Regions from separate parts of the Homo sapiens genome. Here regions 1, 2, 3, 4, 5 and 6 are each linked to region 7. The links are contacts of gene promoters, found by promoter capture Hi-C in blood cells and fetal thymus (Javierre and others, 2016). All regions are on one chromosome and are shown on one strand. The core of a region is centred on a gene start or on the middle of the fragment in contact, and the rest is flanking DNA. Distances in the headings are between cores, read along the strand shown.

Region 1 (3,689 bases), core at 628-3,127, 460 kb before region 7:
GTGTAGCAATCTCAGGACAAAGAGCATCTCTGTTGCCTACTTATTCCAGGGGCCAGGGAACTCCTCCCATTAGCTGAGTCACATGTCTCTGGTTGAACCAATCACTACAGGCAGAGGGAAGCCGTGTTCTGATTGGTCACACCAGAGTCACGTGAGGTCAGACCCACACAAACCACCTGCACTGAAAGTGGCGGAAGGACTGGTTTGCAAACCGGCTGCTGTTTCCGGCAAAAAAAAAAAAAAAAGAGGCAAAAGCCACAAATTTTTCTTATAGCTGTTGGTTGCTTTGATTCACTACAGGCAAAACCAAGAAACTATGGCAAATTTTACAGTCAATAAAACTGAGTAAAAATTAAAAAAAGATTTGATAAATAGGTGTTTGGTGGAAAATAAAGTCTAGGGATGATTAATATAAGAAATATTAGTCTAAACATGGTGAGCTTTTCTGTGGAATCAAAAAATCTGAATGTGGCCGGGCGAGGTGGCTCACAGAGGCGGGTGGATCATCTGAGCTCTAGCGTTCGAGAACAGCCTGGGCAACATGGTGAAACCCGGTCTCTACTAAAAACAAAAATTAGCTGGCGTGGTGGTGCGCGCCTGTAATCCCAGCTACTCCGGAGGCTGAGGCAGGAGAATCGCTTGAACCCAGCAGGCGGAGGTTGAATTGAGCCGAGATCGCACCACTGCACTCCAGCCTGGGTGAGAGAGCGAGGCTCACAACAAGGAAGAGAGAGAGAGAGAGGCAGAGAGAGAGAGAGAGAGATCTGAATGTGAGGATCAAAAGTAAATTGAACTCCTGACCTTAAGTGATCTGCCTGCCTCAGCCTCCCAAAGTGCTGGGATTACAGGCATGAGCCACTGCACCCGGCCAAATTGGGAATGATAAAATGTATATGATTGAAAAAGAGTCTGTTGTTTGGGGGGTGTCCACATCTTTTCCTGCTGTTTCCCTCCCACGCACCCTGCACACTACCAATCTTTGTTAAAATGTGTGTAGGTTTCTAGAAGAAAAGCAATTTATCGTCTTGTTGCTGTGGTTCCCAGGTGAGTTGCTAGTAGGAAAACAAGAACACTGTTATTTTGACAGAGCAAGTTGTGACGCTAAGAAATGACTTAACTGCACAGGAGCAGATTTTAAACCAGTATTTCCATTGCTGCCACCTAGTTGTCCACTTTAATTTTCTGCTTCAGTGTTTTAAATCTTGCTCCAAAGTACGTGATATACAAATTATTGTTTATCTCATTATGTATTTGTTAAAGAAAATAAAATGAAATTATATATATATATATATATTTTTTTTTTTTGAGACGGAGTCTTACTCTATTGCCCAGGCTGGAGGGCAGTGGTGCGATCTCACTGCAACCTCTGCCTCCCAGGTTCAAGCAATTCTCCTGCCTCAGCCTCCTGAGTAGCTGGGATTACAGGTGCCCACCACAACACCCAGCTAATGTTTGTATTTTTAGTAGAGATAGGGTTTCACCATGTTGGCCACGCTGGTCTTGAACTCCTGACCTCAAGTGATCTGCCTCAGCCTCCCAAAGGGCTGGGATTACAGGCGTGAGCCACCGTGCCTGGTGAAATTTTATATTTTTAAGATGCACTACTCAATAAAATGAACTTCAGGATGTGTGCTGATATTTAAAACAGAAAGAAAGTCCAGGCACAGTGGCTCATGCCTGCAATCCCAGCACTCTGGGAGGCCAAGGTGGGAGGATCCTTTCAGTCTGGGAGTTCGAGATCAACCTGGGCAACACGGTGAAAACCCACCTCTATAAAAATTACAAAAATTATCCTGGCATGGTGGCACATGCCTGTAGTCCTACCTACTCAGGAGGCTGAGGTAGGAGGCTCACTCAAGCCTGGGAGGTCAAGGCTGCAGTGAGCCGTGATCACGCCACTGCACTCCAGCCTGAGCCACAGAGGGCCACAGAGCAAGACCCTGTCTCAAACAAAACAAAACAAAACAGAAAAAAAATGAATTAAATAAAAGTAGCTCACATCTGAGTTTGTGAGGATACTGGCATCTTGGAAGTTTATGAGAATCTCAGCTTTTCATTTCAAATTAGGCTGGAGGAAGCATATGTGTTTCCATATTGGAATCATAAAACCTTTTTTCCAGAATCACCCAAATTATTTTCCAGAACCAAATAAATGGCCCCTATCTCAGTGTAAGAGCTATGAAATCATCAATTTCAGAAATTTAGTAGAGACCTTTTCACATTTAAGTATATAATACATATACAAATTGTACTAGATAGCCTAATATTTAAAGATATTAGTAGGCTGGGCATGGTGGCTCACGCCTGTAATCACAGCACTTTGGGAGGCTGAGGCAAGAGTATCACCTGAGGTCAGGAGTTTGAGACCAGCCTGACCAACATAGTGAAACCCTGTCTCTACTAAAAATACAAAAATTAGCCGGGCATGGTGGCACGTGCCTGTAGTCCCAGCTACTCAGGAGGCTGAGGCACAAGAATAGCTTGAACTTAAGAGGCAGAGGTTGCAGTGAGCCGAGATCATGCTACTGCACTCCAGCCTGGGCCACAAAGCAAGACTTCATCTCCAAAAAAAAAAAAAAAAGTTAGTATAAATATGCATAGGCCTCAGTTTTAAGTACCATAATTTGAAGAGATGCCAGAATAGTTATTCTTGAATTAAATATTAACAAAATAGTTGCTTTTTTACCATAATGTCAGGAGTATCATATTGAAAAATTATTTACATATATTATTTTTTTGAGAAAGAGTCTTGCTCTGTCATCCAGGCTGGAGCACAGTGGCATGATCTCAGCTCACTGCAAACTCCACCTCCCAAGTTCAAGCGATTCTTGTGCCTCAGCCTCCCAAGTAGCTGGGACTACAGGTGCGCACCACCACACTCAGCTAATTTTTGTATTTTTAGTAAAGACGGGTTTTTGCCATATTGGCCAGGCTGGTTTCCAACTCCTGGCCTCATGTGATATGCCCGTCTTGGCCTCCCAAAGTGCTGGGGTTACAGGTGTGAGCCACTGGGCCCAGCCTGTTTATATAATTAAAGGAGGGTAATGAAGAAGCAGGAGCTGGGGTTGTAGTGGGAAACTGGTTAAAGATTGTCTGGCTCACTCCATAGTGATTGTACTGTTGGGCTTGCCTAACATAAATATAAATATAAATATAATTGAGTGCAACATAATGTTCTTGACCAATTCTCTTTGGATGGCGGGACTCATGACTGGGGGCATTTGTGATTTTTCCACCCACATCTGTTTTGCCTTTCTTCTGGTCTCAGCATCTCAATTTTTGAGGGGCGGGGAGGACTTCCTTTCTGCCATTGTGTCCTGGTTTTGTTTTTTTTAAGAGACAGAGTCTCTCTATATCGCTCAGGTTGGACTCGAACTTCTAGGCTCAAGTGACCCTCCTGCCTCAGCTGCCTGAGTAGTGGAAACTACAGGCATGCTCTACTGCACCTGGCTTGTGTTCAGTTTTGACTCTCAGTTGAGGTGACTCCCCTACTTTAGTGGAGTCATGATTTTTGGCATAACAGTTGTGATTGTTAATTTTATATGTCAACTTGACTGGGCTGTGGGGTACCCAGACGTTTGGCCAACGATTAATCTGTGTGTGTCTGTGGGGGTGTTTCTGGATGAGATTAATATTTGAATTGATGCTACATCCATATAATGTACAAATAAGAAATTACTTGACCACAC
Region 2 (3,311 bases), core at 374-2,873, 400 kb before region 7:
TATAACCCCCACCTAATTTTGGACATTTTAATACTGTTAAATCTTTGGGTTAGGTCAATAGGGTTTTACAGCCATGCCTTTTTTTTTACTCTCTCTCTAACAGCTTTATTGATATAGTGTACATATCATAAAATCTGCCCATTTAAAGTGTATAATTCATTGTTTTTTAGTTTATCCACAGAGTTGTGCAAATATTACTAAAATGTTAATTTTAGAACATTATCATTCCAAAAAGCAACTTCATAACATCTAGCAGTCACCTCCTTTCCCATTTCTAGCCCTACCCATTTATCTATGTGTTATTTCTCTCTAGATTTGCCTACTCTGGACTTTTACTCTAAATGGAATTAAATAATATGTAGTCTCTTGTGACTGGTGTCTTTCACTTAGTATAATGTTTTCAGGATTCATCCACATTATGGCATGTATCAGTACTTCATTCTTTTTTATTGCTAAATAAGAGTGCCTTGTATGGACAAGCCACATATCATTTATCCATTCATCGTTGGTGGATATTTGGGTTGTTTCTGCTTTTCGACTATTACAAATACTCCTGACAGTCGTGTACAAGTCTTGGTGTGGACAAATGCTTTCATTTCTCTTTGGTATGCATCTAGGAGTGGAGTTAATTACTGGGTCATATGATTACTATATTTAACCTTTTGAGGAACTGCCAGAATTTTCCAAAGGAGTCCCACCGTTTTACATTTCCCCCAGAAGGGTATGAGGGTTCTGATTTCTCTGTCTCCTTACCAGTACTTAGTATTGTATGTCTTTTTGACTATAGCCATCCAAGAGGTATGAAGTGTTATCTCATTGTTGTCAACCATTGATTTTTGATATTATAAACAGGTTTCTTTTGTGTCATTTGCAGTTAGAGAGATTTTACTCTAACTTTTTTTCCTAAAGTAGACTTACTTGTTGAAATGAAGTTTTTAGTGAGAAAGTGTGATCATTTATATCTACTTCATTTGACAGCTCATGTATCTTAGAATAACTTAGAATTTCAGCAGCTTCTGCAGCATCATATATGCGGCTAATAGTATTGATGCGATGAAAAATACTGTTCTTTACATTTTTGCTTCTTGATTTTTTAACTTTTTGTTTTGAAATACATTTAAATTTACAGAAAAGTTGTAAGAATTCACCAGTTACTAACTTTTAGTCGCATTTGGTTTCTCATTTTTCCGTTATGCATGTAATTTTTTTCTGAACCATTTTAGAATAAGGCGCCAGACATCCTGAATATTTCAGTATGTATTTCCTAACAATAAGGACATTCATAACCACAAGACAATTCTTAATTTTCAGAATCTGGGCTGGGTGCGGTGGCTCATGCTTGTAATCCCAGCATTTTGGGAGGCTGAGGCGGGCAGATCACTTAAGGCCAGGGGTTTGAGACCAGCCTGGCCAACATGGCGAAACCCCGTCTCTACTAAAAATGCAAAAATTAGCCGGGTGTGTTGGTGCATGTCTGTAATCCCAGCTACTCGGGAGGCTGAGGCACGAGAATCGCTTGAACCTGGGAGGCAGAGGTTACAGTGAGCTGAGATTGTGTCAGTGTACTCCAGCCTGGGCAACAGACTGAGACACTGTCTCAAAAAACAAACTTTTTTTTAGAATTTGGGAGTTTCACACAGTACCCTAAAATACAGTCTTTATTCAGATTTTGCCAACTGTCCTAGTATTGTCCATTAAAAAAGTTTTTTTTTTTTCCTTCTTCAGGATTCAGTTTAAGATCCCACATTGCATTTAGTTGTTATATCTTATTAGTCTCTTTTAATCTATATTTCTTCTTGACCTTTTTCTTTCAAACTAATGAAATACTTTTGAGATGCTCTGTTGATGGTATATACTAGATCTTAAATCATCTGTTTTTTTGAGTAGTGTATAAAATATTGTTAAAATGTAGGCTTTTATTTAAAAAAATAATTAGCTTGGTAGTGATGCCCAAATTTCAGCCTTCCCTCCAAAAATATTTTTTAAACATTGTGTTCAGTTTTGTTATTCAGGAACATTTTATTGAGCCCCTGCTTTGTGCTAAGATGCTGTATTTGGTGGGTTCAGTCTGTATAATGATGATAGGTGACATTTCACATCTTGGGTATTAATAAAACATACAAGTTGAGATAAGCTAGAGGAAGAGTTTTGCTGTACATGAAGGAGGGCAAGGTATGATCACTAGGAAGTCCGCAGAGGAGAAATGGTTCGAAATCCAAGAGAACAGACTAGTCCATGACTGTGAGATTCATGCTGCTGAGAGGGGTAAGTGGAAAGAAGGTTTTCTGAAGAAGGTAAATTCTTAGTAGTTTTGGTTCTTAGCTGTCCAGTAGAGTCAGCTGTTTAAGGACCCAGATTTAAATCTCCAGGAGTTGAGTAGATGAGAACCAACTATAGGTTTAAAGGGAGGTAAGTTGGGAGAGGTGACCCGCTATCCTGATCTTGGCAGAGTAGCAGAACAATTACATTATGCCTGTTTGTCCCTAAACAGAGGTTATGTGTTCTTTGTACTGAATTAAAACACCCTGCTTTGTTTGGGAAGACAAAGGCTGGCAAGAAGAAAGAGAGAGGGAGGGCTCAGAAGTTGTTTACAGCTAGTGATTGCTTTGTAAGGTCTTCTGGTGAGTTAAGATTTAAAAAGGATTTTTTTTTTTCTTATTGAGAGTCCAACAATTGTCAAAGAGTAGATACACTTAAAAATGTTTAAGCAGCTGGGTGTGGTGGCTCACACCTGTAATCCCAGCACTTTGGGAGGCCGAGGCTGGCGGATCACAAGGTCAGGAGTTCGAGACCAGCCTGGCCAACATGGTGAAACCCTGTCTCTACTAAAAAAAATGCAAAAATTAGCCAGGCATGGTGGCATGCTCCTGTAATCCCAGCTACTCGGGAGGCCCTTCTGTGTTCAAGCAGTTCTCCTGCCTCAGCCTCCCGAATAGCTGGGGTTACAGGCTGAAGTGAGCGGATCATGAGGTCAGGAGTTGGAGACCAGAGCCTGGCCAGCATGGTGAAACCCCATCTCTACTAAAAAAAAAAATACAAAAAATTAGCCGGGAATGGTGGCGTGTGCCTGTAATCCCAGCTACTCTGGAGGCTGAGGCAGGAGAATTGCTTGAACCCAGAAGGCGGAGGTTGCGGTGAGCCGAGATCGCGCCACTGCACTCCAGCCTGGGCAACGGACCAAGACTCCATCTCAAAAAAAAAAAAAATTAAGTAAGTTTTTGTTTGTATTAATTAAAATTAATTTACAGTCGCGTGTATTAAATATGTGACTGTTTTACTAAGGCAATGTTTGCTTTGTCTTTAAGCCCTTA
Region 3 (3,764 bases), core at 551-3,050, 380 kb before region 7:
CCTCTCTTAATACTTACTGTATTAGAAATTAAAACTGAGAAATTAAGAAAGTTAGTTTTAAAAATGATAGTAATAAGCCCATTACATATTAATGTAAAAACAAAATGAGTGAGAAATGGTACTGATTTACATTTTTATGTCTTTCTGTTGTCTGGCTTAAATAGGAGGCAGCTGGGTTCTCCTGTTAGTGTTCGCATTCAGTCTGTTGCATTATCATACATTATGTAGCCTCTGGAAAATTCCAGAGTACACTTGAGAGAATGTGGGTGGAAAAGGCAAGCAGTGCTCTAGTGGTGTCATTGAAGTAGTTGTAACCTGGTGGAACCCCTGCAGTGCCCTTAAGCCTGTGTGGTCACTGGGTCGCACTTGGAGGACTGTTGGTGTGGCCAGTGGAGCACTGCTGTGCCTCCGATGACTTGATACTTTTTTTGCAGTGGAACTCTGAGACGAATCCTGCATAACATTAATTCATCTTCTTGTCCCTGTTATTTAGATGAATGGATTAAGTTTGATGATGACAAAGTCAGCATCGTAACACCAGAAGATATCTTACGGCTTTCTGGTGGTGGAGACTGGCATATCGCTTACGTTCTACTCTATGGGCCTCGCAGAGTTGAAATAATGGAAGAGGAAAGTGAACAGTAATCTTCATTTTAGTATTTATGCTTAGATGTGAAAATAAATGTTATTTGTTGATCATTTCTATAATCCAGAGCTTTAGAGGAAGACACATAGGTGGGTTTATGTTTCACCTCATTTGGAACAAAAGAGGACAGAAGCAGACCACTCTGTGCACCAACCTAAAAAATTACAGAGAAGAGAAAATTATCTTTGGATTGTGCTGCCCTATATAAAGGTGGCAGAAAGACATTTTTAAAAAGCTTATTATTTCTTGCATTATTTTAAAAAGTTCAGAGTTGAAATGCCTTTCAACCATTTCCTTCTGTGGTCATTTTTCTTGCTGCCTTTTTCACCCAAGATTCAGCAGTCAGATGTTTACTGCACACCTATTACCTATTATTTGCTGTTCTTGCATGGTTCAAACCACCATTCTGTAGCCACCCATCCTTTGCCTTATCTAACAAACATTTTTCCAGGAAGGTGGAAAAGGAAGTGTTGCTCTCATTGTGTGACTCAGTGCTGCTGTCCATCCCATGGAAACATGGGCACAATCAAGTATTTGTCCAGCCTATTGCAGGCTTTTCCTGACTTTAAAATAAATTGTGATCAATAATAGTACCTTTGATTATACATTTATTATTGTGTCTCTCTCTGATGTACTGTGGATTGTACATTTAACTTTGGAATGGCTTTGTAATAATCAGTCTTAAGAAAATGTTGACAAGCTCTGGTTGCTTATTTTTAGAAAATGAGGACATTTAATAATAATAAAAAAAAAGGGATTAATAGCTTTTGACCTCAAGTCTTTTGTCTTCTGAGTGTTGGAGCTTGGCTGAAGACATGTTTAATACTGTACAATTTCTGAAGATGGTTATTAACACTGTGCTGTTAAGCATCCATTTAAAAATATTTGTTATCTTCTTTGCCTGCCTGTATTTTAAAAAGAAATACAAAGTTGTAAAAGTAATGGATTTCTTTGGATGCTGAATGCAGTGATGTTATCAGTCAGATTCTTTCCTTGGCTCAGTTGTGTTTGTATTTCCTTTCTTAATTCCCCAAATCTTGGCTGGGCACGGTGGCTCACGCCTGTAATCCCAGCACTTTGGGAGGCTGAGGCAGGTGGTTCACTGGAGGTTGAGTTCGAGACCAGCCTGGCCACATGGTGAAACCCTGTCTCTACTAAAGATATAAAAATTAGCTGGATGTGGTGGTGCACACCTGTGATCCCAGCTACTTGGGAGGCTGAGGTGGGAGAATTGCTTGAACCTGGAAGGCAGAAGTTGCAGTGAGCTGAGATCACACCACTGCACTCCAGCCTGGGTGACAGAGAGACTCTGTCTCAAAAAAAAAAAGAAAAAATTCCCAAATCTTAATGTCTGTTTCAGAATTTTAGTGATTTTAAAGTGATAGTAGAAAATACCAAGCATATGAGGTATTTCAATATGATAGGCTTCTTACATTTTAATAGTTACTCATCTTTGTTCCAGGACCCTTGACTGATGCTAGGGAAAGGATAAAGCATAGAATACCAGCCAGTTTGGCTCTGATTTTGAGTTATTTATAATAAAGTTTGGGGATTATCATAACATCTCATATCTTTGTGTATGTTGTTTTAATGCTCGGCAGAGCACAACACTGATGATAACTATTAAAAATAGAAAATAACAGCCATTTTACTTTCAAATCTGATGTGATGCAATCTGTGAACACTAGGAGGGGATAAAATAAGCATTGCAGGGAAACTTATTTGTAAATAGCTTCCTCACCTAAACTTTGACTTGGCAATCAATACTTTCTACTTTGTGGAGGGGATTAAGAATAGAATGGGCAGGATGAGACCATGAAAATTATAATGATTCATGTATATTTGTATGATGCTTGTAACTTTGCAAAGTCTTTTTTATTCATTGTCTCATTTGGTCAGAACAATTTTATTGAGGACATGAATTTAACAATTAGAATTTAGATTTTCTGACTGTAGCTACTAAATGTTGTAGCTACTAGACCAGGTGAGCTAGGTTTAGAGCAAAGTATATAAGCCTTGTATGGACTATATTAGAATTTTAAAAATTGTAATTAATTCCTTATCATCATTATAAAAAGCTTGATTTTTTTATTTGATCTAAAAAAGCATTATTCCAAAGAATTTTTTCAAGTAGAAATGGGAGTTAGTTATACCAGTGTTGTTTTTAACTAATAAGGCTATTTTAGAATTCAGCCTTGCCTGTAAGGTCTTTGAGAAGGGAGAGGAGTAGGCCAAAAAAAAAAAAGTCTTGATTCCTGAATGTGCCTTATATGCTGTGCCACTCACACCGAGGCCATCATCTCAACATTAGAGTTGTGCTAGATTACTGCTTGACTGACTAGCTAGGTTAGGCCTAAGAGTGTTTACCGAATAATCTGCACTCACTCAGTAGCCCTTCTTCAGGATTAAAAACGATGATGACCTCATCTTAGAGCCCTAAAGGGAAATGCTTATGTGGGAACAAGAAAAGTCGGTGGTACTGTCTTCTGCTACTACTACTTAGTGCTTTGCTGTGTATAGGGTGTGTTCACATATATCTCAGTTGAATGTCACAAGAATCCCTGAAGTGATTAAAAGTCTTGAGAGGTCAGGCAATTTTTGTAAGGCTAGAAGGAAAAGTGAGGTTTTAGACTTCATTTCTTTTAAAGTTGGCAAACAAACATTTTCTGTAATGGACAAGATAGATAGATTAGATAGATAGATAGATAGATAGATGATGATTGATTGATGATTGATAGTAAATTATTTCAGGCTTTGCAGGCTATAAAGTGCTGCAGCTCCTTAGCTTTGCTGTTGTTATAGTGTAGCTGGAGCCATAGACAGTTAGTTAGTTAGTTATGAGTGAGCACAGCTGGGTGCCAGTACAATTTTAATGATCAAGACTCGTGGCAGGCAGAACAAACCATCATTTGTTGATCCTCTGCTTGAAAGCACGAATAAGTGAGAACAGAGCAGTCATATGGTTTCAGAAAGTGTTATTCTGGGATTTCAGGATAAATTTTGTAAAACTACTAACAAACAACACACAGGAAACTAATTTGGTATAAGAAACGACATATCCCTAAATAGTGCTTATTTAACTTCATTATAAATACATCTACTTAACAAAAAAATATAT
Region 4 (3,642 bases), core at 212-2,711, 360 kb before region 7:
TTGTAGAGACAGAGTCTCACTTTGTTGCCCAGGCTGTTGTGAACTCCAGGCTGTTTTGAACTTCAAGCAATCCTGCAGCCTCAGCCTTACAAAGTGCTGGGATTACAGGTGTAGGCCATCATGCCTGGCCCAAATGTTTCTTTGTAAATGTCTTTGTATCTTGAGCAAAGGGCTTTTATTATCCTTAGCTGTATGTATGTATGTATTTAGTACAGAAGGGTCTCGCTATGTTGCCCAGGCTGAACTTGAACTCCTAGGCCCAAGTGATCCTCCCGCCCTGGTCTCCTAAATAGCTGGAACTTCAGGCATACATCACTGGACTAGGCTACTGTCCTTAGCTTTTATGGCACATCTTAGCTCAGGCCTCAGTTTTCCCGATATTCTAACCCTAAAAAGGCTCATGCTTTTCATTTTAGTCATCCTTACATGCCTCTCTGTCAATCAATTTTACATATAAATAATATTCCTGGGTAAAATTAAAGTGTATGAAATCTTCCATTTCTATCAATTTAACACAAAATACATAAAAAACATGTGCTAGAAAATATTCAGAACATTCTCATTAAAATCTTACCAACTGTCATAACACATCAGCTGAGATCAAATTATCCAATTTTTAAATTATGAAATATTTTAAATGTTCAAAAAGGTATAGTTAAGTAATACAACATTCATGTACCCACTACCCAGCTACATATAAAATCCTAACATTTTTTACTTGTTACATATCTGTTAAAGAAACAGAATATCATAGACATTGTTGAAGCTCCCTCTATAACCCTCCCCACTCCTATTTCCCTCCCTCCCTCTACTATGGTAACCACTACCATGTATTTCACGGTTAGGATTTTTATACACATTTTATATTACTACATATGTAAACATCTATAAATAATATATGGATGTACTTTGCACTGTTTCAAACTCTACACATTATGTGCTATTCTGCAATTTGCTATTTTCATACAACACTATGTTTGAAATTTACCCATCTTAATACATGTTGCTCTAGTTCAGGGATTGGCAAATCTTTTAAGGACCAGCCAGAAACTATTTTAGGCTTTATGGACTATATATCTCTGTCACAACTATTTATCTCTGCTGTTACAGAGCAAAAGCAGTCAGAGACAATCTAAATGAATGAGGGTGGCTGTGTTCCAATAAAAATTATTATTCTTATTTATTGTTTTCTGAGATAGGATCTGACTCTGTCAGCCAGGCTGGAATGCAGGAGCATGAATATGGCTCACTGCAGCCTTGACCTCCTGAGCTCAAGTGATTCTCCTGCCTCAGCCTCCCCTGTAGCTGGGACTACAGGCATATGCCACCACACTCAGCTCATTTTAAAATTTTTTTGTAGAGATGGGGGTATCACTTTGTTGCTCAGGCTGGTCTCAAACTCCTGGTTTCAAGCAATCCTCCCGTCTTGGCCTCCCAAAGTGCTGGGATTACAGCCACTGCACCTGGCCCAATAAAAATTATCTACAAAAATAGATGATAGGCCAGATTTGCCAACCCCTGCTATAATTAATCCATTTTCAGTGCTTTATAGAACTGTCACGTAAAATTATCTTATCACCCAGTCTTCTGCTTGTGAACATTGACACTGTTTCTAAACTTTCATTTACAAATACATCATTTACAAACAATGGTACAGTGAATCTTCTTAGAGATTTCCTTGTGTATGTGGGTCCTGTGTAGGGGGCCATATTTAGGAACAAATTTTAACTTCACTAGTTTTTACAAAAGTATTCTGCAAAGTGGTTGATTCAATTTATATTTCAACAGTGTATAAAAGTTCTCATTTTCCCACATCTCTGCCAATACTAGTATTGTTAGGCTTTTCAATTTTGGCCAGTTTGCTAAGTGTATGGTTATCTCATATTTTATCTGCACTAGAGATGCTTAGCAACTTTTATAAGCTCATTCACTATTCAGTTTTCTACATCTTTAAATTACTTTTTCTTATCATCTTTTCAGTTTTCCATTTGGTTGTCTTTTATCAATGGAATATTTTGAATACTAATTTTTCCCGGTTATGTAGGTGACAAATAATCTTCTCCCAGTCTGTGCCTTGTCTTTTTACTTTGCCTACGGTATCTTTTGCTATTCAAGACTTTTACATCTTAATATTAAATCTTAAATACTAAATTGATATTTTTCCCTCACAATTTGTGCTTTTTGTAGCTCAAGAAATCTCTCCCTACTCCAAATTTACATATTTCATGTTTTCTTCTAAATGTTTAAAAGTCTTGCTTTTCTCATTCATACTTTCAATTAACCTGGAATTGATTAACCTAGAATTGACTGTACTGAGGTATAGACTGAATTTTAATTTTTCCATATGGATAATGAATTGTCCAAGCAACATTTATTAAGAATAGGCCAGGCCTGGTGGCTCACACCTGTAATCCCAGCACTTTGGGAGGCTGAGGCGGGCAGATCACCTGAGGTTGGGAGTTTGAGACCAGCCTGACCAATATGGAGAAACCTTGTCTCTATTAAAAATATAAAATTACCCGGGCATGGTGGCGCATGCCTGTAATCCCAGTTACTCGGGAGGCTGAGGCAAGAGAATCACTTGAACCCAGGAGGTGGAGGCTGCGATGAGCCAAGATCGCGCCACTGCACTCGCCTGGGCAACAAGAGTGAAACTCTGTCTCAAAATAAACAAATAAATAAATAATTCATCCTTTCCTCACTAGTTTATAATGCAATCTTCTTTTGTATATTAACCTTTTCTACAATTTGGACTTTCTATTGTTTTAGTTTTCTTCTTCTGTATATTAGTACTAATAATTACCTGCCCTAATTACTATTGCTGTATAGGTCTTAATATCTGACACAGCAAGTGTTCCCGCTTTCTTCATGGTTTTCTTACTCTTGGCTCTTTGCTTTTCCATAGAAATAGTAAGACTAACTTTTTGAGTTCCCATGAAAAAACCCATTTGGTCTTTATAATAAAACAATTTATATTCCTTTGGGTATAACTCAAATTAAAAAACCCATTTGGATACTGATTCAAAATATACTGAATCAATAAATCTGGGGAGAAGGGGCACTGGGTCTGTATCTATAAATGTAGAAACACTGCTCCATTTTTGTAATGTTTCTCTATGAAGATTACGCCTAGGTATTGGAGAGCTTTCACTGCTATTCTGAATAACATGTTGTAATTGATTACTGGTTTATAAGAACACTATTGATGTTTCTCTTGCAATCTTGCTGAAGTTTCATTAGTTCTAACAGTTTCTTGGTTCTCTTGGACTTTTCTCTGTAGACAATTATATTGTCTTCAAATGGGGATAGTTTACTCTTTTCTTTCCAATACTTATAACTCTTACTCCTTTTTTGTTTTTTTCTCTTATTGAAATGGTTAGATCCTCCAGTACGGTGTTGAACAGAAATATGGTTAGTGTCCATCCATGTCTTCTTTTTGGATTTAATGGGAATACTTTCTAAAGTTTCATAATTGTGTATGATGTTTGCAATAGGGTTTTTAAAATCAGTCCTTTATCAACTCAGAGAACATTCCTTTCTACTTTTTGTATTGAATATTAGATTTTATTGAATTTTCTTGGCTTCTGAGATGATCATACAGATCTTAAAAATCTTTAATCTGTTTTTTTTTTGTTTTGTTTT
Region 5 (3,334 bases), core at 738-3,237, 440 kb before region 7:
GGAGACAGAGTTTGCGGAGAGCCGAGATCACACCATTGCACTCCAGCCTGGGCAACAAGAGCGAAAACTCTGTCTCATAAATAAATAAATAAATAAATAAATAAATAAATAAATAAATAAGCAACTTAATCTTGAGGCACCTTTGCCATAGCAGCATAGCATTCACCTAATATAATTTGCATCATCTGTTGACCCAAAACTAGGTTATGAATTCATTTAGGAAATACTTTTAAAAAAATCTTTTAGGAGACTGGGTCTCACACTCTGTTGCCCAGGCTGGAGTGCAGTGGTGCAATCTTGGGTCACTGCAGCCATGAACTTCTGGGCTCAAGTGATCCTTCTGCGTCAGCCTCCCAAATAGCTAGGACTACAGGGGCAAGCCACCCTGCCTAGCTACTGTTTTTAATTTTTTTTTTTTTTTGTAGAGACAAAGTCTCTGTTACTTAGACTGGTCTCAAACTCCTGGCTTCAAGCTATCCTCCTGCCTCGGCCTCCCAAAGCACTGGGATTACAGGCATGAGCCACCATACTTGGCCAGGAAATACTTATTGAAAACCTTTTTAGGCAAACTACCGTTCTAGGTTATAGAATGTGTGTGTGTGTGTGTGTGTGTGTGTGTGTGTGTGTGTGCGTATGCATATGGTGTGTATATGTGTGTGTAGGATCCAAAATTATTATTATATTAATTTTTTTGAGACAGAGTCTTGCTGTGTTGCCCAGGCTGGAGTGCAATGGTGTGATCTCAGCTCACTGCATCCTCCGCCTCCCAGGTTCAAGTGATTCTCTTGCCTCAGCCTCCCGAGTAGCTGGGACTACAGGTGCCCGGCACGATGCCCAGCTATGTTTTGTATTTTTAGAGACGGAGTTTCACCACATTGGCCAAGCTGGTCTCGAACTCCTGACCTCAAGTAATTCGCCCGCCTCGGCCTCCCAAAGTGCCGGGATTACAGGCATGAGCCACCGTGCCCGGCAGGATTCCAAATTATTTAAGGCAGGGCTTATAGTTTATTATTTATTATTTATTTTTTAGACAGAGTCTTGCTCTGTCACCCAGGCTGGAGTGCAATGGCGCAATCTTGGCTCACTGCAACCTCTGCCTCCTGGGTTCAAGTGATTCTTCTGCCCCTGCCTCCCAAGTAGCTGGGATTAGAGGCGCATGCCACCACGCCCGGCTAATTTTTTATATTTTTAGTAGAGCTGGAATTTCACCATGTTGGCCAGGCTAGTCTCGGACTCCTGACCTCATGTGATCTGCCCCGCTTGGCCTCCCAAAGAGCTGGGATCACAGGCATGAACCACTACACCTGGTAGGGCTTATAATTTATAATTTAGTAGAGAGAGAAGAGAGAAACATAGGAATATTAAACTGTAGATGCTCTAAGAAGGTGTAGTGATATTTGTTGTTTTCTGTTTTATTATTTATTGTCTGTCCTTGGTAGACAGAAAAATACTTCTACAAATATGTCCATGTTTTAATCTCCTGAACCTATGATTATCTTGGTTGTCTTCCAAAAGGGACTGGCTGATGTGATTAAGGATCTTAAAATGAAAACAGTATCTGGAATTATCCAGTTGGGGCTAACGTAATCACAAGGGACCTTCTAAAAGGAAGGCAGAGGTCAGAGTCAGAGAAGGCGCTATGACGACTCAAGCAGGGGTTGGAGTGATGCTGTGGCTGGAATGGAGCCAGGAGCCAAGGAATGTGGACAGTATCTAGAATCTGGGAAGGGTAAGGAATAGATCCACCCTCAGAGGCCAGGTGCGGTGCCTCACTCCTGTAATCCCAGCACTTTGGGATGCCGAGGCGGGTGGATCGCCTGAGGTCAGGAGTTCGAGACCAGCCTGGCCAACATGGCAAAACCCTGTCTCTACTAAAAATACAAAAATTAGCTAGCGTGGTGGTGCGTGCCTGTAATCCCAGCTACTTGGGAGGCTGAGGCACAAGAATCGCTTGAACCCAGGAGGCGGAGGTTGCAGTGAGCTGAGATGGTGCCACTGCACTCCAGTCTAGGCAAAAAAGTGAGACTCTGTGTGAAAAAGAAAAGAAAAAAAGAATTCACCCTCAGAGCCTCTAGAAGGAATGCAGTCCTGCCAACACCTTAATGTTAAGACCAGTCTCAGACTTCTGACCACCAGAACTGTAAGATAATAATAAACTTACGTTGTTTTAAGCCACTAGGTTTGTGATAATTCATTACAGCACTCATAGGAAACTAAATCAGCCATAATAAAACATAATAGTATTTGACACAAAGGGGTGATTGTATAAGAAGGCTTTCAGTTTATGTGAAAAAGTTAGCATTAAATGGAGATTTTAAAGTTGGACAGGATTTCCCATGGCCAGATGAGGAAGGAGGGTACATTCTAAGCAATAAATTGTAGGTAATTCACCAAGTGAAAACATTTCTGATATTTGGCTATGTTTTATAGAACTTATTTATGTATAAACATGCAGGTTAAGATCTTACCAATTTATTCATTAAAGAAGTCACCCTTAAGAAGAAAATCCCATCCATTAAACACATGGAGGGCAGGGCTTAGCAATGTGTGTCATGGCGATGAGGTCGCTGTCATCTTTAACTCTGACGTTTAGGAAGGCCAGTTGTGCAAATTTCTTTTTATGCTTCCTTTCAGTTGCTAGCATGGTTCCACCTCCTCACTCTGCCCCCATTTGTCTTAAATTTAGGTCTGCGGATCTTCAGAGAGGCTGGAAGAAGCTAGTTGTACCAAAGGGACCAAAACTTGGTCTACAAGATTCCCTGGTCATCTACATGATGAATAAACTTCAAATAGGTAACTTTCACATCCAGTTCTCACAGCATCAAGTAATTCCTGAGTGCCTACGAGATAGCCACGATTCCTGTTTATAGTGTACTTGGGGGAATACAGACATTAAAAAAATAGAAGTGTGATGAGAGTTACTAAAGAAAAAGCTGGCCGGGCATGGTGGCTCACGCCTATAATCCCAGAAGTTTGGGAGGCCGTGGGCAGATAGCTTGAGGCCAGGAGTTTGAGACCAGCCTGGTCAACACAGCAGAAACCCCATCTCTACTGAAAACACAAAAATTAGTCAGGCGTGGTGGTACACACCTGTAATCCCTGCTCCTCAGGAGACTGAGGCATGACGATCACTTGAGCCTGGGAGGCGGAGGTTGCAGTGAGCCAAGATTGCATCACTACACTCCAGCATGGGCGACAGAGCAAGGCTCTCTCTCAAAAAGAAAAAGAAACAACAACAACAAAAAAGCGCAGGTTGCAATGTGAGTGTAGCAGACAGGATGATGATTTTTGCCTCTGAATCTCTCAATCTTTAGGCCTCCTTTACTATCAGCTT
Region 6 (3,531 bases), core at 1,004-3,503, 430 kb before region 7:
TTTTTTTCTTTTTTTCTGTTGGTAGTGTGGTTAATCTCATTGATTTTTAACTTAAACCGTGCATTTCTGGGATGTGCAGTTCTCAAATTTCTTGGTTTTGTGACCCTTTTGCCCTCTTAAATATTATGATTGACCCCAGAGTTTCATATAAAGGCACACCTCATTTTATTGTGCTTCACAGATAATTGTGATTTTTATAAGTTGAAGGTTTGTGGCCACCTTGCATCGAGCAAGTTTATAGGCACCATTTTTCCAGCAGCCTATGTTCACTTCATGTCTCTTTGTCACATTTTGGTGATTCTTGCAATATTTGAAACATTTTCATTACTCTCATGTCAAGTATGTTGATCTTTGATGTTACTTTTGTAATTGTTTTGGGGTGTCATGAATCACACCTGTAAGATGGCAAACTTAATCGACAAATGTGTCTTCTGACAGCCTCACCGACCCGCAGTTCCCTCCTCCCTCTTCTCGAGCCTCCCTATTCCCTGAGACAAGACAGTATTGAAATTAGGCCAATTAATAACCCTACAGGCTGAGCGCGGTGGCTCACACCTGTAATCCTAGCACTTTGGGAGGCTGAGGCGGGTGGATTCCTGAGTTCAGGAGTTCAAGATCAGCCTGGCCAATATGGTGAAACCCCATCTCCACTAAATAAAAATAGAAAAATAGCCGGGCGTAGTGGCACATGCCTGTAATCCCAGCTATTCGGGAGGCTGAGGCAGGAGAATTGCTTGAGCCTGGGAGATGGAGGTTGCAGTGAGCTGAGATCATGCCACTGCACTCCAGCCTGGCCAACAGAGCGAGACTCTGTCTCAAAAATAAACAAATAAATAAATAAATAAATAACCCTACAGTGACCTCTAAGTGTTCAAGAGAAAGGAAGAGTTTCATGTCTTTTACTTTCAACAGAAAGCTAGAAATGATTAAGCTTAGTAAAGAAGGCCTGTGTAAAGCCAAGACAGTCCAAAAGCTAGGCATTTTGCAGCAGTTAACCAAGTTGTGAATACAAAGGTCCAGTTTTCAAAGGAAATTTATAATTTAAAAGATAAGTTCTTGAAGTGTTACTGCAATGAACACACAAGTGATAAAGCAAAGCAGCCTTATTGCTGATATGGAGTAAGTTTAAGTGGTGTGGATAGAAGATCAAACTAGCCACAACATTTTCTTAAGTCAAAACCTAACCAGAGCAAGACCCTAATTCTCTTTAATTCTGTGAAGGCTGAGAGAGGTGAGGAAGCTACATTGTCCTCATCAGACTAACACAGGAACAGAAAACCGAACACCGCATGTTGTCACTTGTAAGTGGGAGCCGAGCAATGAGAATACATGGACACAGGGAGGAGAACAGCACACACGGGGGCCTGTCAGGCAGTGGGATGTGGGGAGAGCATCAGGATAAATAGCTAATGCATGCTGGGCTTAATACCTAGGTGATGGGTCTATAGGTGCAGCAAACCACCATGACACAATGTTTACCTGTGTAACAAGCATGCACATCCTGGACATGTACCCTGGAACTTAAAAAAAAAAAAAAAAATATATATATATATATATATATATATATATAAACTGAAGCTAGCAGAAGTTGGTTCACGAGGTTTAAAGAAAGAAGCAATCTCTGTAACATAAAAGTGCAAGGTGAAACAGTAAGTGCTGATGGAGAAGCTGCAGTAAGTTATCCAGAAGATCTAGCTAAGATTGTTGATGAAGGTAGCTACACTATACAACAGATTTTCAGTGTGGATGAAGCAGCCTGATATTGGAAAAAGATGCTGTCTAAGCCTTTCATAGCTAGAGAGGAGAAGTCAGTGCCTGGGTTCAAAGGCCAGACTGACTGTCTTGTTAGAGGCTAATGTAGCTAATGACTTTAAGTTGAAACCAATGCTCGTTTACCATTCCAAAAACCATGGATCTCTTAAGAATGATGCTAAATCTACTCTGCCTGTGCTCTGTATATGGAACAACAAAGCCCAGATGCCAGTACGTCTGTTTATAGTATGGAGTACTGAATATTTTAAGGCCACCATTGAGACTTCCTGCTCAGAAAGATTCCTTTCAAAATATTACTGCTTATTGACAATGCATCTAGTCACTTAAGAGTTTTGAGAGACATAAACGAGATGAATGTTGTTTTCCTGTCTGCTACAACAACTATTCTGCAGCCCATGGATCAGTAATTTCTACTTTTATTATTTAAGAGATACATTTTGTAAGGCTAAAGTTTCCCTATAAAGTTATTTCTCCATGAATCTGGGCAAAATCAATTAAAAACCTTCTGGAAAGGATTCACCTGAATTCTTGATACCATTAGGAGCATTCATGGGAGGAAGTTAAAATGAAGTCAGTATTTACCAGGAGTTTGAAAGAAGTTGATTCTAACCCTCATGGATGACTTTGGGGAGTTCAAAACTTGAGTTGAGGATACAACTGCACATGTGGTGTAAATAGGAAGAAACTAGAATTAGAAGTGGCCAGGCATGGTGGCTCACTCCTATAATCCCAGCACTTTGGGAGTCTGAGACAGGAGGAGAGCTTCAGGCTGGGAGTTTGAGACCAGCCTGGGCAACACAGTGAGACCCTGTCTCTACAAAAAATAAAATTAGTTGGGCATGGTGGTGTATACCTGTAGTCCTAGCTACTCTGGAGACTGAGGCAGTAGGATCGCTTAAGCCTAGGAGTTTGAGGTTACAGTGAGCTATGATTGTGCCACTGCACTCCAATCTGAGTGACAGAGTGAGACCCTGTATCTAAAAAACGAAAAAGAATAGAAAAATGGAGCTTGAAATTGTGACTGAATTGCCACAATCTCATGATACAACTTGAACAGATGAGGAGGTAACTTATGGATGTGCAAAGAAAGTAATTTCTTGAGATAGACTCTACTCCTAGTGAAGAAGCTGTGAATGTTGTTGAAATGACAATAAAGGATTTAAAATATTACGTAGGCTTACTTGATAAAGCAGCAGCAGGATTTGAGAGGTTTGACTCCAGTTTCGAAAGAAGTCCTACTGTGGATAAAATGCTATTAAACAGCACCGCAAGCTACAGAGAACTCTTTCATGAAAGGAAGTCAGTCAGCGTGGCAGGTTTCATTGTTGTCTCATTTTAAGCAATTACCCAGCCTTCAGGAACCAGTGCCGTGATCAGTCAGTAGTCATCAACTTGGAAACAAGACCCCCCACCTGCAAGAAGATCATTAACTGAAGGCTTAGATGATTGTCAGCTTTTTTTTTTAAGCAATAAATTATTTTAAAATTAAGGTATGTGCATTCCTTTTTAGACATAATGCTGTTGCATACTTCACAGACTGATATAAACATGATGTTTGTATGCACTGGGGGAAAATTTTTGTGTGACTTGCTTTATTGCGATATTTGCTTTCTCATGCTCTGGAACCCAAACTGTAATATCTTCAAGGTATCCCTGTGTTTTAATCTATGTAATACTCTTTTGTTGGATAGAAGATAATTTTATCTAAGTCAGTTGATCACATTTTTTAGTGATTTGTACTATGTTGTAAGAAATCTT
Region 7 (3,603 bases), core at 95-2,594:
TGCATTCTTTGCTATACAAAAGAGCTGTTGTTAAATTTATAAAGATATAAAAAGGGGAAAGGGGAAGGCACCAAATGGAAGATTCTTAGGCATTAAGTGCTCAGACAGCATAGATCTTCATTAGATGACGTCAGGGAGAAGAGACACAGACTTTGCCATCTCAGGTAGAAGTATCAAAGTCATCAGCCTCCTAGTAAGACAGACCTGGGTTTGAAGCTCTGCACAGCCATTTCCTAGCTGGTCTGGGGAAAAATTACTTCTTGAAGCCTCAGTGTCTTTATTTGTAAAGTAAGTGGAATTATATTACCTTGTCAGGATGTTGTCAGAATTAGAAATAATTTAAAGAGGTCCAGCACGAGCAGGTCAATCAAGGGAAGATGTTAAAAATAACAACAGGTGAAATGTACTCCCAAAAGATAAAGTGGATACATAGATGAATCTTCCTCACACACAGAGTATAATAACCTCAGAAAAATATTGCCTAGAGTAAACATGCCTCCCAAGCCAACGTTCATCATCCAGGAATACGGAGAGGATGTTTGGGATATGGGGGGCATGAAATTTTACAATTGTAGGGCCCTTTAACAAGGGTAGACTTGCAAGTTGCACTGCCTTTCCTGCCCTCTCTGGCTACCTGTTCCAGCATCCAGAGTTTGTGAACCTGGGGCCCAAGGACAGCACCTGGCATGGGCAGGCCCACTTGGCGACTCTCTCAGGGCTGCTGCAGCTGTGTCAGTGTCCCCACAGGGAGGCTGACATCCAGCCATGACCATCGCATTAAGCCCAGCAGTCGGGCAGGGGAGCAACTGCTCAGAGGCACCTTTGACCCACTACTTTTTTCCCCTCCTGCTTTATCTGCCCAGAGCGAGGCTCTCTTTCTAATGTGTACAAGGCGTTCTACCTATGACTCGTGGTCCTGCCATAGAAATGCTTTTTTTTTTTTAACTGAATTAAGTTGCCAAGTTTGAAAAATCAGGAATTTCACATAAGCATCCCTATTTCTGTCTTCTTTTGAAAAACTGAATGTTCTTTCCACAGTGAGCCCACATTCCTTCCTGACGACCATCACCGTTCAGCTGGAGTAGAGAGGGCTCTGCTCGCTTCAGATCCGGACGCGCAGGTCCTCTGCAGGCCCCGCCCACCCGGCGTCACCTGCAGGTCCCGCCCACCCGGCGTCTGCAGGCCCCGCCCACCCGGCGTCACCTGCAGGCCCCGCCCACCCGGCGTCTGCAGGCCCCGCCCACCCGGCGTCACCTGCAGGCCCCGCCCACCCGGCGTCTGCAGGCCCCGCCCACCCGGCGTCACCTGCAGGCCCCGCCCACCCGGCGTCTGCAGGCCCCGCCCACCCTGCGTCACCTGCAGGCCCGGGCCGCGGGGTTGGTTTCCACCCTGGAGGTTGCTGACACCCTGTGCCCTCGGCTGACTTCCAGCCGGTGGCACAGACGCCTCCAGGGGGCAGCACTCAAGCGCATCTTAGGAATGACAGGTGAGAACATCCTCCGGGCCCCAGATTTCTCTCCTCGCCGCTCTTGCCCATTTCTCCGGAGAGCCAGAGAAAGCCGCTCCCAAGTCCAAGGCCGAGCTCCGCAGACGCCCGGCCCCTCCGGCGCGGACAGAACAAAGCCACTGTTCTTGCCGGGGAAGGTAGAAATACTGTGGGCTGCTTCAGAGGCTGCCAGCAAAACTCAGGCAATCTCCTGGGCTGTTCCAATACGTTTATTCTCTTTTTCAAAACAGGAGGAGGAGGTAGAGGCGGGGAGACACACCATCCCTGCAAAACTACTGGCAAAAACTAAGCGGAGCCGGGTGTGGTGGCTCACGCCTGTAATCTCAACACTTTGGGAGGCCGAGGGGGGCCGATCACTTGAGGTCAGGAGTTGGAGGCCAGCCTGGCCGGCATGGTGAAACACAAAAATTAGTCGATTGTGGTGGTGCATGCTTGTAATCCCATCTACTTGGGAGGCTGAGGCAGGAGAATCGCTTGAACCCGGGAGGCGGAGGTTGCAGTGAGCCGAGATTGCGCCACTGCACTCCAGCCTGGACAACACAGTGAGATTCTGTCTCAAAATAAATAAATAAATAAACCCAAGCAGAAAAAGAATCACTCTGAAAACGATCACATCTAACTATCAATGCTCATACAGTTTATGGAATTATCAGCCCAACTTGATAAAATCAGTATTTGAGGAAACTGTGGATAAGCCCCCTGATTTCAATCCCCATTGTGCCAGGTCCTGGTTAACTGAGGTTAACGAAGTAAAGAGCTGCAGACACTATTAACTGCTACCTTAAACCGATTACTCTAGCTTAGCCTACTTTCCACGTACAGATTTTACCAGTGGACAACATGATGCTTTATCTTGTTTTTCTCTCCCTGGGACTTTTCTCCAGACATTGAAAACAGAAATACTAATAAGGCCACTTTTACCTGCCTGATGCAAGAACAGAATTTTCAAACTCAACATTAATGCAACTCCTCAGTCCCTGACAATGGCGGGTGGAAAAGTTTCTAAAAATATGCAGCAGCACAATTATCGGGAAGAGATGAGATACTGTTACCTAATAAAAATGCCATAAATAGAGAATGATGAACTACCATGGGAAATGAATGCATAGAAGAGGACATGCTGGAATGTGGGACAGTAAAAATCACTTAAACTTTGCGTGACCTTGAAGAAAGTCACGATGATCTGTTTTTCCAGGTCCCTCAAACAGTGAGATGTGGCTGTTTCCCAAGTCTTCCTCTCCAGTGTAAAGGGTCTGAATTTAGACGCTTTGTGAGTCTTCCTTCTTTCGACAGCCTGGAGTCTCTCTTGAGTCTCAAGGCTGCCTGAGTTCCTCTCTAACATCCTCTAGGCAGTATCAGCTAATGAGACAATGAATTCCATGGAGGCAGCAGTGGGAACAGAAGTACCTCTCTTGGATAATTTACAACACTGGTGAGCAGAGGGTCAGATCACCCTGGGGTTTGTGTCACAACCAAAAAAGTGGCTGTGGCACTGAGTTCTTGGATGGTTTTCTACAGCTGGTCCAGATTTTCCATGGGCTCACCTTTAAATTAAAAGAATTTCTGCACTTTGAAGAATTTGAAAACAAAGCCATGTGTGAGAATATGAGATCCACTCATATGCCCTTGCAAGAAATAGGTTGCATTCCTTTTTCCGGACTTAAAAAAAAAGCACCCCCTCTTTCTTTTTTTCAGAAGGCATATATGTAAATGATTCCAAATTAATCTTTAGCATGTGCCTATGTTGTTCTGATTTACTAAACTTTAAAAATATGTCCATTGTTGTCTGTTAACAGCTTTTGGCAACTTTTTCAGAGATTGAAATATGTGAGCAAATTAGAGAAATGAGTACAATTATTAGCTAGTACCATTCAACAAGCGCTAAAGATACAAATACCTCTACAATACATAAAAGGAATGATTATAGTAGATTTTATAATGCCATATAAGGTTTCTTATTTAACTTCATTCTTAATTCTCAAAATAAAATGAAATTACATAGAAGCAAAGTAATATAGTTACCAGAATAGTATTTTTACATGTCTTTAAGTGTATGTTGTTGTTGTTGTTTTTAAGGTAATTATGTGATGTTGTGG

The links. Contacts are between HindIII fragments. The CHiCAGO score rates a contact against its expected background, and 5 or more counts as called.
Region 1: a contact is called between a fragment that was not itself captured here and the fragment with the promoter of CLUL1 in region 7, in 3 of 17 cell types (naive CD8 T cells, total CD4 T cells and naive CD4 T cells). The highest score is 6.9, in naive CD8 T cells.
Region 2: a contact is called between a fragment that was not itself captured here and the fragment with the promoter of CLUL1 in region 7, in 5 of 17 cell types (M2 macrophages, monocytes, M1 macrophages and 2 more). The highest score is 7.7, in M2 macrophages.
Region 3: a fragment that was not itself captured here is called in contact with the fragment with the promoter of CLUL1 in region 7 in 4 of 17 cell types (M2 macrophages, M0 macrophages, monocytes and 1 more); the score reaches 8.5 in M2 macrophages.
Region 4: a contact is called between a fragment that was not itself captured here and the fragment with the promoter of CLUL1 in region 7, in 4 of 17 cell types (M0 macrophages, M2 macrophages, monocytes and 1 more). The highest score is 11.9, in M0 macrophages.
Region 5: a fragment that was not itself captured here is called in contact with the fragment with the promoter of CLUL1 in region 7 in 9 of 17 cell types (total CD4 T cells, monocytes, naive CD4 T cells and 6 more); the score reaches 10.1 in total CD4 T cells.
Region 6: a contact is called between a fragment that was not itself captured here and the fragment with the promoter of CLUL1 in region 7, in 5 of 17 cell types (monocytes, M0 macrophages, M2 macrophages and 2 more). The highest score is 6.9, in monocytes.

What each region holds. Positions count from the first base shown.
Region 1 is chr18:136,480-140,168 of GRCh38, forward strand. No RefSeq gene overlaps it. Among named protein-coding and RNA genes, the nearest start is that of USP14, 20 kb to the right of the region's middle. The HindIII fragment of the contact is 3,960 bases long and covers 1-3,689 here.
Region 2 is chr18:193,332-196,642 of GRCh38, forward strand. USP14 (ubiquitin specific peptidase 14) reads left to right here. Exons shown (of 16, transcript NM_005151.4): 7 at 3,306-3,311. Among named protein-coding and RNA genes, the nearest start is that of USP14, 36 kb to the left of the region's middle. The HindIII fragment of the contact is 5,788 bases long and covers 1-3,311 here.
Region 3 is chr18:210,640-214,403 of GRCh38, forward strand. USP14 (ubiquitin specific peptidase 14) reads left to right here. Exons shown (of 16, transcript NM_005151.4): 16 at 494-3,764. The coding sequence ends at 645. Among named protein-coding and RNA genes, the nearest start is that of USP14, 54 kb to the left of the region's middle. The HindIII fragment of the contact is 1,843 bases long and covers 880-2,722 here.
Region 4 is chr18:230,922-234,563 of GRCh38, forward strand. The region is part of intron 11 of THOC1 (THO complex subunit 1); the gene reads right to left. Among named protein-coding and RNA genes, the nearest start is that of THOC1, 35 kb to the right of the region's middle. The HindIII fragment of the contact is 6,171 bases long and covers 1-3,642 here.
Region 5 is chr18:152,723-156,056 of GRCh38, forward strand. LOC105371951 (a long non-coding RNA gene) reads left to right here. Exons shown (of 4, transcript XR_935081.2): 3 at 2,687-2,793. Among named protein-coding and RNA genes, the nearest start is that of USP14, 4.2 kb to the right of the region's middle. The HindIII fragment of the contact is 5,646 bases long and covers 1-3,334 here.
Region 6 is chr18:169,487-173,017 of GRCh38, forward strand. The region is part of intron 3 of USP14 (ubiquitin specific peptidase 14); the gene reads left to right. Among named protein-coding and RNA genes, the nearest start is that of USP14, 13 kb to the left of the region's middle. The HindIII fragment of the contact is 2,648 bases long and covers 930-3,531 here.
Region 7 is chr18:595,644-599,246 of GRCh38, forward strand. CLUL1 (clusterin like 1) reads left to right here and starts at 1,345. Exons shown (of 10, transcript NM_001393344.1): 1 at 1,345-1,486. RefSeq lists silencers at 1,094-1,223, 1,284-1,403 and an enhancer at 1,826-2,325. The HindIII fragment of the contact is 7,229 bases long and covers 1-3,603 here.